Regions from separate parts of the Homo sapiens genome. Here regions 1 and 2 are each linked to region 3. The links are contacts of gene promoters, found by promoter capture Hi-C in human tissues and cell types (Jung and others, 2019). All regions are on one chromosome and are shown on one strand. Each heading gives the region's core, a stretch centred on a gene start or on the middle of the fragment in contact. The rest is flanking DNA. Distances are from core to core; before and after follow the strand shown. Region 1 overlaps SNHG31 (small nucleolar RNA host gene 31). Region 2 overlaps BARD1 (BRCA1 associated RING domain 1). Region 3 holds the start of ABCA12 (ATP binding cassette subfamily A member 12).

The links. Contacts are between HindIII fragments. The study calls those that stand out against the background at their distance.
Region 1: a fragment that was not itself captured here is called in contact with the fragment with the promoter of ABCA12 in region 3 in 1 of the 25 tissues and cell types used here (adrenal gland).
Region 2: a fragment that was not itself captured here is called in contact with the fragment with the promoter of ABCA12 in region 3 in 1 of the 25 tissues and cell types used here (dorsolateral prefrontal cortex).

The regions. Positions count from the first base shown.
Region 1 is chr2:214,815,582-214,820,109 of GRCh38, reverse strand. The region is part of intron 1 of SNHG31 (small nucleolar RNA host gene 31); the gene reads right to left. Among named protein-coding and RNA genes, the nearest start is that of SNHG31, 7.6 kb to the right of the region's middle. The HindIII fragment of the contact is 3,216 bases long and covers 424-3,639 here.
Region 2 is chr2:214,729,786-214,734,833 of GRCh38, reverse strand. BARD1 (BRCA1 associated RING domain 1) reads left to right here. Exons shown (of 11, transcript NM_000465.4): 10 at 4,326-4,423. Among named protein-coding and RNA genes, the nearest start is that of BARD1, 77 kb to the left of the region's middle. The HindIII fragment of the contact is 4,235 bases long and covers 1,489-5,048 here.
Region 3 is chr2:215,136,487-215,141,057 of GRCh38, reverse strand. ABCA12 (ATP binding cassette subfamily A member 12) reads left to right here and starts at 2,432. Exons shown (of 53, transcript NM_173076.3): 1 at 2,432-2,918. The coding sequence starts at 2,850. The HindIII fragment of the contact is 12,690 bases long and covers 1-4,571 here.

The sequences.
Region 1 (4,528 bases), core at 782-3,281, 320 kb after region 3:
ATCACTTGAGGTCAGGAGTTGGAGACCAGCCTGGCCAACGTGGTGAAACCCCGTCTCTACCAAAATACAAAAATTAGCTGGGTGTGGTGGCAGGTGCCTGCAATCCCAGTTACTTGGGAGGTGGTGGCAGGAGAATCATTTAAACCCAGGAGGCGGAGATTGCAGTGAGCCGAGATGGCACCACTGCACTCCAGCTTGGGCACAGAGTGAGACTCCCTCTCAAAAATACCTATATCTATATCTACCTATATAGATAGATATAGATATATATCACCAATTTTTGTACCTATTCACAATACAACATCTATAGACATGACATACTTTTTAAACATTTTTAAAATGTATTTTATTTTATTTCAATAGTTTTTGGGAAACAGGTGGTTTTGGTTACATGAATACGTTCTTTGGTGGTGATTTCTGAGATTTTGGTGCACCCGTCACCCAAACGGTATACACTGTACCCAATGTGTAGTCTTTTATCTCTCACCCCACTCTCACCTTCCTCCTGAGTCCCCAAAGTCCATAATATATTTCTTTTGCCATGGCAGACATGACATATATTTAAAAGTAACCTGCATTATTACATTTTTCTCATGTACGTTTAGAATAAACAATCAATGAAATATATTAAGCCCTAATTAAGCCTTACACCAATATTCTTGGTGTAAATACTCTCACCATGGCTGCTTTCAAGATACTGAAGTAAATGTATTCTGTATTATTACATTTTATTCATCTATGTCTGGAATAAACAATCAACAAAAGAATATATTAAGCCCTAATTAAGCCTTACACAGATATTCCTGTTGTAAATACTCTCACTGTGGCTGATTTCAAGCTACCAAAGTGATGTCACTGAATGTGAAGTTGATAAGATGTGCAAGAGCACACTATCATATACTATAGCATTTCTACTATAGGGATAGAAAAAAATGTAAATAACTTCAAGAGCATAGATAATAAGTAAATGCAGTAAAATATTTAGGAAGTGAGTTTTTAATATTACCTTTGTTTTTAAAAAGTTATTCTAAGTTCACATAATATAATTTTAAATAATGACAACATTTAACAAACAGCTGGCAAAACTCCTAAAAATTCCTGAAAATTTAATAAATGGCTCTTGTGAGCCTAAACATGCCAGCTAGCACACACCACTGGTGGATGGCAAAGCTATATAAATGTGGGTTGTTATTAATAATGTGACTTAATATTTACTCCCTGGCTCAAGTTGCCCTGAAAGGCAAGCTTTTAAAAAAATATTTCAGGGCTTTAATTTTAGTCTATTTGCTTGGTCGCAATGGGGCTTTTCTTTGAATAGCTAAGCACCATATTTCCAAATCTCTTAGGGTGGCATATATGAACAGATAAAAATCTCAGCCATTATTTATTGATAGCTGCTAGCTTCCCTCTCAGAAAGTGACTTTTCACTGATCCTTCCCCAAATTCTAGGAGTTCGTTATTACATTTAGCTGTGTACTAACTATAATCACTACTATATAATAGGTATTAGGTTGAGCCAGATGAAATTGCTGTTGTCTGACCATTTTTGACCTACAAAACCAGTAATTTTATATGCTTCAATCAACACTTTTGCTCTAGTCAAGCTGGTAGTGATGTTCCCCTATCATTTGTGTGTCTGCATTCCTATGATTTTGCCCATCTAAAATAATTTTCCTCCTCCCTTCTACTACTCAAACCTAAGACTTAACTCCCACTTTCACCTCTCCCACAGATATCCATGATCGTTCCAATCTTCATTAAGCAACTGTAAGGATTCTCTCCCATGACCTTTTGTGATACTTTATGTGGATCACAGAATTGAACACTTAATTATAATGTCTCATATTATTTATATTGTGTCTTGCATAGTCTTAATAACTAGGAACTAAATTCTCTGAGAGGAAAGACTATAACAAACTTTTTCTGTAAGTAACAATGTATAATTGTGCTGAAAATGGGTATGAACTCGTATTTCAACTGATTGGGATTTAAATAATATCCTTTTCTGAAGTTGAACGTAATTAAAACTAGGTTATGTGCTACTTATGTGCTTGGGCTTTGGAGTCAGGCAAACCTGGAACTATTTCCTTGCTCTGCTATCTGTAAGCTATATGTTTTTAGGAAAGTCACTAAATAGCTTGAAGTCCCTTTTCCTCTTCTGTCAAACGGGGTAATGGTGTCTATACTACTGGGTGATTGTTAGGATTATATGATGAATCTGGATTATACAGACTTTTTTCTAGAAAATATAACCAAAGCAATATATTTTTCTCAATGATGTGAGTAAAATCAGGGAAGGAAAGATGATCATGGTGTTTGGTTTAAGAATAAAGAGAACACAACATTATATTTATTTTTATGATTGTATTTTTTGGTTTGACTCGGCTTCCAAATTTCCCAAATTAATACCTAAAAATGGTATGTGTGTATTGTGTGTGTGTATACCTATACTGTATTAGTCTGTTCTCAAGCTGTTAATAAAGACATACCCAAGACTGGGTAATTTATGAAGGAAAGAGGTCTAACTGACTCACAGTTCCACACGGCTGGGGAGGCCTCACAATCATGGCGGAAGGTGAATGAGGAGCAAGGTCACTTCTTACATGGCAGCAGGCAAGAAAGCTTGTGTGGAGGAATGCCCGTTTATAAAACCATCAGATCTCATGAGACTTATTCACTATCACAAGAACAGTATGGGGGAAGCCACCCCCATGATTCAATTATCTCCACCTGTCCCCACCTTTGGCACATGGGTATTATTACAATTCAAGGTGAGGTTTGGGTGGGGACACAGCCAAACCATATCATATACACATACATATATACACACACACTTATATATACATATATACACACACATACATATATATACACACATGCTCTTATTACCTAAAAAAAATTCTGATCAATTTATTATTCTTGAACCTAGAGTTTTTTGTACAGTGGTAAATGCTAGCATTTATTAGGAACTTAATATGTTCCAAGCACTTTTCTAAGTGTATTAGCTTATTTTATCCATATAATAGCAGTAAAGTATTTTCTGTTATCCCTACTTTACAGATGAAAAAATATATAAGCTATATTTTGAGATAGTGAGAAAAGTAACTAAAGGCATGAGCGAAATTTAATAGACTATGTCTGATAATTGTAACTAAATTTTAAGTCAGCGTTCTAAATTCTAAATATATTGCTGAAGGGCTCTTAAGGATTATTAACAATAAGAGTAAAATGAGTCCAATATGAACAAGGCATAATTTCTAAAAGAATATATATGGATGAAGAAAAATTAAGCTGAAATGCATGTTGTAATTGATCATTGCTTTTACAGATAATGGTATATAGTCATTCTTTTTTTTTTATTCCCATATTTATTGAACACAAATTGTATATGAGGCATATTTAAATATATTGGTTACTTCTCACTTGTGCTTTGAATGAAATTTAAATTATTGCATGAATTTTGATTAAACTGATTACAGAATTTTGAAACACAATGGAACCCAAACTAGGGCCAATGCTCATTTCCTAAATGAACATTTTATGTGCAAACAAACAGCTGCTAGAATCCAACAGAATTTAAAACAAGCTGTTTGTAAATTTTACTGACAGCTGTTTTTGGTGATTTTTGTCAACAGAATTTTCCTGCTTTGCATCACAGCATCCTTTTATTATAGTATCCCCTCAAAGTATAACTTGCTTGCTTTAATCACGTTTACAGAGATTTATGACTTGATGCTTATTCAGTGGTAGAGCTTCTCAACACAAAATGTCAGTGAGCCTGTTATAAATTGCTTCTGGCATTCCTACTCTATCTTTTATTTGGCTGGGAGTATTTCCACCTGAAAGTGATAAATTCCTGTTATAACCACTTTATGTGCTTCAGTAATTACACTGTACAGAAAAAGAGGATTTCTACTGAGGTGTCTCCTTAAAAATAGCAAGCAATAAAAGGCAGTGGAATGGGCTGAACTCTGAAGTCTATTGAACAAAAAACAATGACCAGTGAAATATGTGTGTCAGACTGAATTTGATAAATGATCAGGAAGTACAGAAGATACCAAAACCTTTAAAACAACTACTGTGGGGTCATAGTAATGTAACTATGTCCTTAGACTAGTTACTTTTAAGCCTGTGACAGAAATTTGGCAGGTGCCCACAAGAATGGAGTTAACATCCTTTCAAAAACAATCTTAAAATATCTAGATGCTTCTAGAGACTTGGGTAATTCTAAACTAAATGCCAAGGTGTACATGACATAGGGACTGAGTTGGTATGTACTAGTCAAAGAGACTGTGGCATGCTAAAACGGTTCAGTACAGTACACTGCAGCCAATAACTTGATCAATACATATACACACAATTGAACTGATTGAAATACACATTAATCATGATATTCATGGGTGGTTTGTTTGCTTCATATATGCTGTCTCTAGTACGTAGGACAAAATTACTGTTTTTAATTGCTTAGGCTTTTTTTTGTTCTTAAATGAGCAACAAAATGATGTAAATAAAAGATGTTTAAGTTAAT
Region 2 (5,048 bases), core at 2,357-4,856, 410 kb after region 3:
ACAGTAATTTTGATCAGGATCTTTTCTTAGAACAAACAGTTGTGTCCTTGGTCATTTAAAGTTAGAAAAGTAAAAAGAAAACAGAATAGAATAAATTGGTATTTTAAGAATTTTCTTTTTCTCCTTTGACCAGAAAATATTGGTGTGTGATTTTTAGCATTGGATTGGTTAGGCCTTATGATTTATGAGTATTTTATTCTAGATTGTGGAAAAATTAAAGTTTTCAGAGCACTGCACAATGTACACGTTCAATCTATAGTAAAGTATTTTGCTCATTGGATGAATATTAGGTAACATAGCATTCATAGTTTTTATAAAATGATACTGCTCTCATGGTTCTCTATTAATTTATAAGAAGAGAGTTCTGTCTGATAGTATTTACAGGTGTAAAATAAACTTATATACAATCAAATAAATTCTACTCAGGTTCTACTCAATTTAAACCCAGAGAAGTAACAATGGAACAACTTATTCCATATTTTCTTAATGATGTTCTACTTTTTCTTTCCATATTTAATATTGTGATTTCGTATTTGTTTAACAAGAGCTATAAATGGCTAAAACTCTGGCTGTGTATTATTTCCTGCTTTATTAGTATTTTTGAATACCACTTCACTAATACATGTAAATCATTAATACTTCCAGCATATTTTTTTAATATTTAAAATATATTGGTCCTCCATTATTTTCAGAAACAACTTTGCATTCAAACATTTTATTCAAAAAACCTATTATCTTTGCTTTTAACATTGAAATACATGCAAAATATAAAAGAATATTTTATTATCTTTCTGGCAAGCAAATCTGCTCCCACATTTGTTATTCTTTGAAAGGTTAGCCATTTTAAGTAGGAAAAGAGGGAAAAGCTGAATCTGAAAAACGAATCTTCTCATGTTTGTCTATGTATAAGCTATTAACCTTTTTTCTTTCACTGACTTTGTAACAGAAGTTTACGTAATGTGAAGTTCTTAGGATTTCTGGACAAGAGTAGGGAGTTTTCTTGTTATTAGATATACCATGATTGAGATTATCTCAGTGGCATCCTTAATATCTTTAAAACATGGATGTAATTTTAAATGTGCTTGAAAAATTAAATTTGATAGTGGATTGCTTGTTGACAGAGGAAAATAAAGCAATAAAATTTCATTTAAAATTAAGCACTCTGAGATAGAGCATACAATATTAATGAAAGTTCAGGATTAGATTATTGAAATAAAGTGACAGGAAACAGCAGGAATTTTCTTCTTAGGGAAGAGATTATGACTTCTCTTGTACATGATAGGTGTTTAACACAGTTTGAGCATTCCTAATCTGAAAATCCAAAATGCTGTAAAATACTAAACTATTTGAGTGCCAGCACAACACACACGACCTAACATGATGGCTCACAGTCTAAACGCAGACACAACTTTATGCACAAAATTATTAAAGATAGTATATAAAATTATCTTCATATATGCTTTATCTGTATAAAGCGTATATGAAACATAAATGAATTTCTTTTTTAGACTTGGGTCTTGTTGCCAAGATATACCTAATTATGTACGTGCAAATATTCCAAAATCCAAAACAAAATTGAATTTTAAAACACTTGTGGTTTCAAACACTTCAGATAAGGGATACTTGGCCTATAAATATGATATAGGAAGAGCGCCGAAGTGGAAGTCTGTTGCTTTAGGAAGTGGTTCACTTTAACTTTGCTATTAGTGATCTTAGCAAGTCACTTTATGTTTCTGCACTTGACTGTGCAGATCTTTAAAACAAGAAGGTAGGACTAGCTCTTCAGGGTCTTTTCTACCTCGTAAGTTATTTGATTCTAGGTATTTTCAAAATTCAAGTTACAAGATTAGAATAAATAAAACATTTTATAAAGAGGACTCAAACACATTTTTTTTCCCTCAGAAAGTACCAGTTTTTTCAGTTCTGTCGCTTACTCCAAATTCTGCAGATGTGGCTCCTGGAAACAGTTGAAGTTTTGTTATTGTGTCAGTGTGGGGTAATAAAGAAGAAAGTTTAAAACCGATTATGCCATAAAGTCTGAGTTAGTCTAAAGTGGACCATTACTCACTCTTGGAAAACATTGCATTTCTTTTTCTTCTCCAGTATAAGTTTTTGCTCTCAAGATAATCATTATAGGTCAGCAAGGTGTGGTGGTTCACGCCTGTAATCCCAGCACTTTGGGAGGCTGAGGTGTGCAGATCACGAGGTCAGGAGATCGAGACCATCCTGGCTAACGCGATGAAAGCCTGTCTCTACTAAAAGTACAAAAAATTAGCCAGACATGGTGGCGGGCGCCTGTAGTCCCAGCTACTTGGGAGGCTGAGGCAGGAGAAAGGTGTGAACCCAGGAGGCGGAGCTTGCAGTGAGCCGAGATTGCGCCACTGCGCCCCAACCTGGGTGACAGTGCAAGACTCTGTCTCAGAAAAAAAAAAAAAAGAAAAAAAAATCATCATAGGTCAAAAGACATTTTACTCATACACAACTGAATCTTAATTTATATTAGATGCAATCGCAGGACAGTTCTGGGTAGCAGATTAACTGTTGGTTCTTAGCCACCCTTTAGTCAAGAAAGGAGCCCTTTTGCAGGCATATGCAGTTTACATGCCGAGTAGTGGTTCTGCTCCTGTGTTGGAATCAATTTACTGTTGAAGTAAGTAGGGATCAGCTGGACAAAACTTTATCACTAGCATTTTTCAAGAGGTTTCCAAAACACTGTAGTATATCCAACATATATGTCTAATCCTCAATATAAAGTATATGTTTATGCAGCCATAGATTTTTTTCTGATCATTTTAAGCCATTAGATATCAAGTGATAACAGGATGTAACAGTTTGATATTCAAAACTATGTGTAACTCTGAACTCTTACAGGTGCTATATAATTACTTATTTTTATTGATGTGGATACAATCTGTCAATGCTGTGTCCATAGTGAATTTTTAAAAACTTTTGTTCCTTTATGTTAACAACACTAGACAGTGAAGGGGATACCTGAGTTATTGTTCCAACTTTCCCGATACCCTCTGCTATTAAACTCCTGTTCTATGGGAAAGTGTATGAAATTCTGAAGAACGCATAGGTGAATAATATATGGTTCCTACCCTCAGTGATAAAATGAAGTATTGAGCAAAACAACCTCAAAGACAAATAGGAAATTGTATGGAGGGTTTGTTTTTATGATGAAGATAATTCATTGTAGTATCTAGTTTTTAGAATGCTTCTTGCATTTTATCCACAGAAGCCCGGTGAAAAACATTGTTTTCATTTTTTATTTCCATAGGCAAGGAAGCTTCCAGAACAAGTAATTGGGATAGCCAAGTCCTTCAACTGCAAATCTCAAATTTAGTTTAGTTATATGCCATCAGAACAGAAGCATGATAAATATATATACATGCCATCAGTTCCCTCGCTTGGTGGTAAACAGGCATTATCCAAGATGTTGTCTCTAGCTGAAGCTGACCATGTCCTTCATGATTGGTCCTGGGAATCCCAAGGGTTCCTTTCATTTCTAGAGCCTAGCGAGACAATTGGTACTGGCTGCCAGCCAGTGGCCCTACTTAGGGATTCCCCACCCAGGTGCCAAGCAGTGGAATGACTCTAAACAGTGCCAGGCTGAGCTGTCTCTATTGCTTTTGCTTTTTAACCTGAAGCTGTGAACAGACTTACTCAAGCCATCAAAAGAATGCTTTTTTTTTTCCTGCAAAGCCCAATCAAATCATCTCTAGACTAGCAACCTCAGTTGTGTACCTGTCACATGCCAAACCTATCCCAAGCTCTGCTTGTTTATTTTAGGAAGCGCTGTTGAACCCCTGTTGTGTGGCTAGCTGAGCTTGGTGCTGTAGACTAAAGCACATTCCTTCATGTCAAATCACTTACAGTTTAACAGACGATTAGACATATAACTGTCAAAATGAGCAGTATAGATGGTAAGTGCTCAGTTTAGGTTATTGTGTCATGGACTTTTTATTCACCTTAATTTTGGGTAATTGCTATGAGTGGAAATGTAGACTTTTATTTTTGTCTTTGAAATAGTATCCTGGCTTAGGTTTTTCAGAAAGGAGATTAAAATTACAGTTAGTGTTCAGTACTAACTTATGGCTTAATCCTCCAAAGAAAGAGTTTTTTAAAATATTTTCTTTATATGGGAAAACCAGTTGTATTACATTTTGTTTTGGCATAAGTAAGATTTCTGTTTGCATTTTAGAATAATACTTAAAAACTGCCATGAAGAAGAAAAACCACTTAGGTAAATTGCTTGATTTTAATGAGAGAGATATAGTGCTCACTTGATACTTAGTTTGCTTTAATTCTTGTGTTTTTGTCAGGGGTAAAAGCATGTCTACGAAGAAAAGTATGTGAACAGGAAGAAAAGTATGAAATTCCTGAAGGTCCACGCAGAAGCAGGCTCAACAGAGAACAGCTGGTATTTTTCTTTTAATACAACTTTCATTGTTCTTATTATGACATACTATTATTATCACCATCAGGAAGAACTTCTGCCCTTTCAACAGCTACAGGTGACTGATTAAAATTTTAATTGTGCTTATTTCAAGCACTTGATTCTGAAAGATGATCACGATGAGCAGTAAAATCCAGAAGGTAATAATTTCATACTGTTAATGGATTTTTGGCATCTTGAACATTGCCATAAACCTTTCAGAATCTGAGGTAAATCTCAGATACAGGAAGTAGCTTGAAAGAAGACTTACAGCTGCTGCTTGGATTTAGTTACCATATGTCTCTATGGCCACATATTGTAGCTTTAATGGATAATATCGCATTATCCTGTTGATATTATATAAGTATATTAGAAGTCACAAAGAAAATTTCCATAGAAGGGAATTATGAAACTTTTTTTATTTCCAACGAGCATACGGAAGTATGTTTCATAGCTAATTGGATCCCTAGCCTCAGCACAAAAATCTTTTGTGCCCCGTGAATACATTTCTGGAACCCTGGAGGGCACACCCCCATGGTGGCTGCCCTGGAGACCTTAGGTTGGTAATATGTAAGGACCTGAATGTGGATGGGCAGAATTGGATAAAAGT
Region 3 (4,571 bases), core at 1,183-3,682:
TGGTTGCTGTTAAAATTTCTGAACTGTTTTACATCATCACTAACTCAATTCACTTGTTTTTTCTATTCAAAAACAGGGTTTCAAGTCTCAACTTCAATCAGTTTCTCATTCTACTAACATTTTCATCATCCCACAGCATCGGCTTTATCATACTCTATCTCTTAAGAAGAGTTTCCAGGAACTTTTCATTTTAAATCCGCAATATGACATCTCCTCCTCTTTGGCTTTAGGTCCCTAACTCTCCAACTTTATCTTCTACTACTTCAGACCAGCTCTTAGATTTAGTTGGGTCAGAATTCTCACCATTCAGGAATACAGAATTTATCTCAAAATTGTGGTGTTCCATGAGACTTGGTCCCTGTACTCAAGGGGCTCAGAGTATGGACAGAGAGACAGACTGACTATACTAGAAGGTAATAAGGGAGTTGGCTATCTGTGCGAACAAAGCTTTATGGGAAAACAGATGAAGGGGTGATTAATTCAGCCGGGGGTGGGGGTGTGGTGGGTGGAAGTGCTGGAAAAGGCTTCAGAGGGGAAGTTACACTTGAGTCAGTCATTTGAGAATGAGCACAATTTCATTTTGGGCAGAGGGAACAGCATGACCAAAGCCTGAAAGTGAACAGTCCTCATCTAAAGTATTCTAGCAGATGGCAGGAGGGAGGGCTGAAGGTGGAGAGACAACTGATGAAGCTGGCAAGAGCCAGGCTGGGAAGTGCCGTGAGGCTCTATGAAGAAGCCTAAAAGAGCAGCCTTCCTTCTCCTGAATTCCTGGAGCAACTACTCTTTGTGAACTCATTTTGGCCATAATTTTTCATGCGTGTACTTACAAAAAAATCTCTACAAGTGATTTATAGACCTGCCTAGAGAAACAGGGAAAATCCCTGATGTTCATTTGTTTCTCAGCTCTTCCTGTGAAGTGTAATACATGGGACTGGAGAAAACATAGCACAGAGATTAACAGTACAGAAACGAGGTTCGAGTTCCTTCTCTGCTGTTCCCACTGTCCTCACTGCTAACTAGGTGAAATCCAGCAAGTTATGGCACTTCTAAATATCACTTTCTTTCACTGAAAATGGGAATAATGACAGTTTCTATATAATAGGACTCCTAGGATGATTCAATAAGTCCTTAGCAAACATTGCTACCCAATTAATAGAATTAATTGACTACTTACTATGAGGCAGGACCTGTGCTAGATTCCTTTTTTTGGAGGGGGGATGGAATCTCACTCTTTTGCCCAGGCTGGAGTGCAGTGGCGCCATCTCAGCTCACTGCAACCTCTGCCTCCCGGTTTCAAGCGATTCTCCCTCCTCAGCCTCCCAAATAGCTGGGATTACAGGTGCCCACCACCATGCCTGGCTAATTTTTGTGTTTTTAGTAGAGACGGGGTTTCACCATGTTTGCGAGGCTGGTCTTGAACTCCTGACCTCAAGTGATCAGCCCGTCTCGGCCTCCCAAATTGCTGGGATTACAGGCATGAGCCACCGCACCTGGCGAAGGGAGAACTCTTAATGCTTTAACGGATTTTGCAAGTAAAGTCTGGATTAGTCAGGGTAGGTGTGAGGATCAAAGGGGAGCTTCACCCTACTAGCCTTGGCTCCAGTAGTTTATTCAATTACATTCAGCAGCAAGTATTGAACACTAATGATATGTAAAGTACTGTGATATAAAATAGTCCATGTCCTCAAATAATTTATAATCTTGTAGGAAAAATAAGACATACACAAATAAAAATAATGCAAAAACTTTAAGTTCCTTGAGAGAGGGCAACAAAGAATGATTCAAAGGCAAGAGAATCTATCCTATGGGATATATCCAAAAAGGCTTCATTGAAGATGTCAACTTGGGGATAACTTTGAAAGGCAGGATCTTAGAGAGGGAGGAATGTATCATGGAAAGAGGAAATAGAAATGTCTTGGATCAGCCTGTGTCCCCTTTCACTATAAGAGCCTGAAACAATGTGGCTTGTCTGTAATAGACACGTGAATCTCCACTCACGAATTGAGGGACTCCAGTTTGTAATTTATGTCCCCTACAGCCTACCTTTCCTTTTCTGCCCTGTGCTTAACCTAGTACATTGTGATGAAAGGTGGGACCTGGCCAACATAGTTTCTTCCCCCAAAATCGAAACATTCAACTTTAGGTTAAAGGTGGACACTTTCCCTAGTATATCTAATGATGGGCTGAGGCTCAGAGCTTTGCAGCTAAGCTCTGGCCTTATTGACTTAAATCATTTTAATGACACTTTAATATTAAAGAGTCACTGGGCCCAGTGTCTGTGAAATGCTCTCTGTGCCCTGCCTCTGCTAGAGCAGACACTGTGTGCAGGAAAGAAGACAAGAGAATGTAGGACAAGTCCTACTGGCCTTGCAAAGGTCCCACCCCCTAGTCCCTGTGACGCATCCAGTGCAGGTGACATGTTCTCTAAGGTGTGGATAGGCAATTAATTTCATGGAGAGTAGGAGGTGTGGGTTCAGCTGCTGCTTTTTTTTTTTTTTCAGTGAGGCATTATCTGAATGATGCTCATTCTCTCTTGAGTCTGGACTTCGTGCAACAAGCAGCAACTGGATATTATTTTAAAATAAGCATAAGCCACCCAAAGATACTGATCTGGGTCCTTCTTTTGGAAGAAGAGTTGATTGAGAAGTGCCTCTTGGTTAAGGATTAACCACAGGGAAAAATCCAGCAGAAACAGAAGAACTGTGGGTTTCTTACCCCAGCCCTCAAGGAAGCTATGCCGTGAAAGGGGTACTGATACACTGACATACAGCAAGTTGGACGGGGCATCAGTTCTTCATTTGTGGAGTGGAGAAAAGAAGAGGAAATCTCTCATTTGGGGCATTTGAAGGATGGCTTCCCTGTTTCATCAGCTTCAGATCCTGGTCTGGAAAAATTGGCTAGGTGTAAAAAGGCAGCCGGTGAGTTAAAAAAAAGTGTGGGAGTATGGGTCATGGGGCAATACGCCAGGTAATCCTAAAATGTGATCTTAATGAGAAGTGAAAACAGAAGAGTTTAAAGGCATTTTCCAAAGCAGGAAGTAAGATATTTAGAATTCATCCCCCTATCTGTCTTATAGCTAATGGAGCGAGTCTTAACATGCCCCCAAAAGCAGCCTTTTCATTTCAGTAAATTAAAGAGTAAACCAGGACATGCCCTGGGCAAAAAAAAAAGAACATGACTCATTACTGGCTGAACTGGAACGTTGAATTCTGGTTTCAAGCCAAAAGGCTTTCAGAATTTTTCTTAATGTAGTTAAAAATGGGATAGAGGAAAGAAAAGTATTATTTGAAATGTACAATAAATGGGAAGAAATATACTGGAAAACTGAAAGCCATAGAAAGTTTGGTTGAAAGGTAAAATACAGAACAGAAATAGTTTGAAGGCTATTAGTATAGAAAAGCTACTGAGAAATTTTAGTATCTAAAAATCATTTACTGGGAATACCAAACAAGAGTATGTATATGTGCTATGTTTTAAGAATATTATTGAATCACTTAGCTTTACTACTACAATCTATCTTCTCTTGCTCATTGCAACGTCTTTTTTGTACTCTTACATTAATGTTTGCGTTCTAATTACAAAGTTAGCTATTAGATCCTCATCAGATGGCTCCCAGGATGATTGAGAAAGGAATTGGTTTCTGGGAGTTGTTATATATTCAGAAGAATGTTTGAAAATCGGGGAAATCCAAAAAGGTATTCAATATACTTTATTTTAAAGTGGTAATTCCCAGCCTTGAATGAGTAATGTAAATATTATGCAAATAATATGCATCACACAGAAACCAGCACTTTATCTATGCACCTTATCTCGCTCCAGGCTTGCTTGGATTGCCTGACACTTTACTTGAGTGTTTTGATGTGTGTAGTAAGAGGAGGAAGTAGATGTTCATTTACCCTTGTGAATTTTGTGGGTAGGGTTTTAAAATTCTAAGGCATGTGATTGCATGGGTGTGGGGTTTGAATATAAAATTATAAACTCATTCATGTTTTTATTTGTTTTTTAACTGGAAAAAAAAAAGCACAGAAGAAAACCTCCCCATAATTATCATGTGGTTGATTCTGTGTGGCATAAGCAGGGAAAGGATCCTGGGTGTGTGGATGTGGTCATGTGGTCAGAGCATGCGAGTTGGGGCCCCTGCCACTGCTCCTCATGTAACTTAAGTAGCTTAAGACAGTTTCTCTAAGCACTGTTTTTCCCACCATGATGTGGCATGATGAGTTAGACGTGACATGATTAGTTAGATGTGGCATGAAGCCTGCCACATCTAACTCATTGGGGGAAGTACCAAATGTGCTAATGTATTTCAAAGTGCTTTATAATACTGACACACTTAGCAAATAGATTAGTGAGGGATTTGAGGCAATGTGTGTCATATTTTATGCAGATTAATAATGAAAGGAAATTCAGGAGAAGATACTGTGGGTAAAAGGAAGAAATCCACGTACAGTCAAGTTTGTAAGTGATAAAAATTCAATAGCTAAAAACAAAAACACAGAGGAACTAAAATCTGTACGTGTTATTGTCAATAATCTGAATGCTGAGGTCTGTTTCTTTTACAACTCTATTTT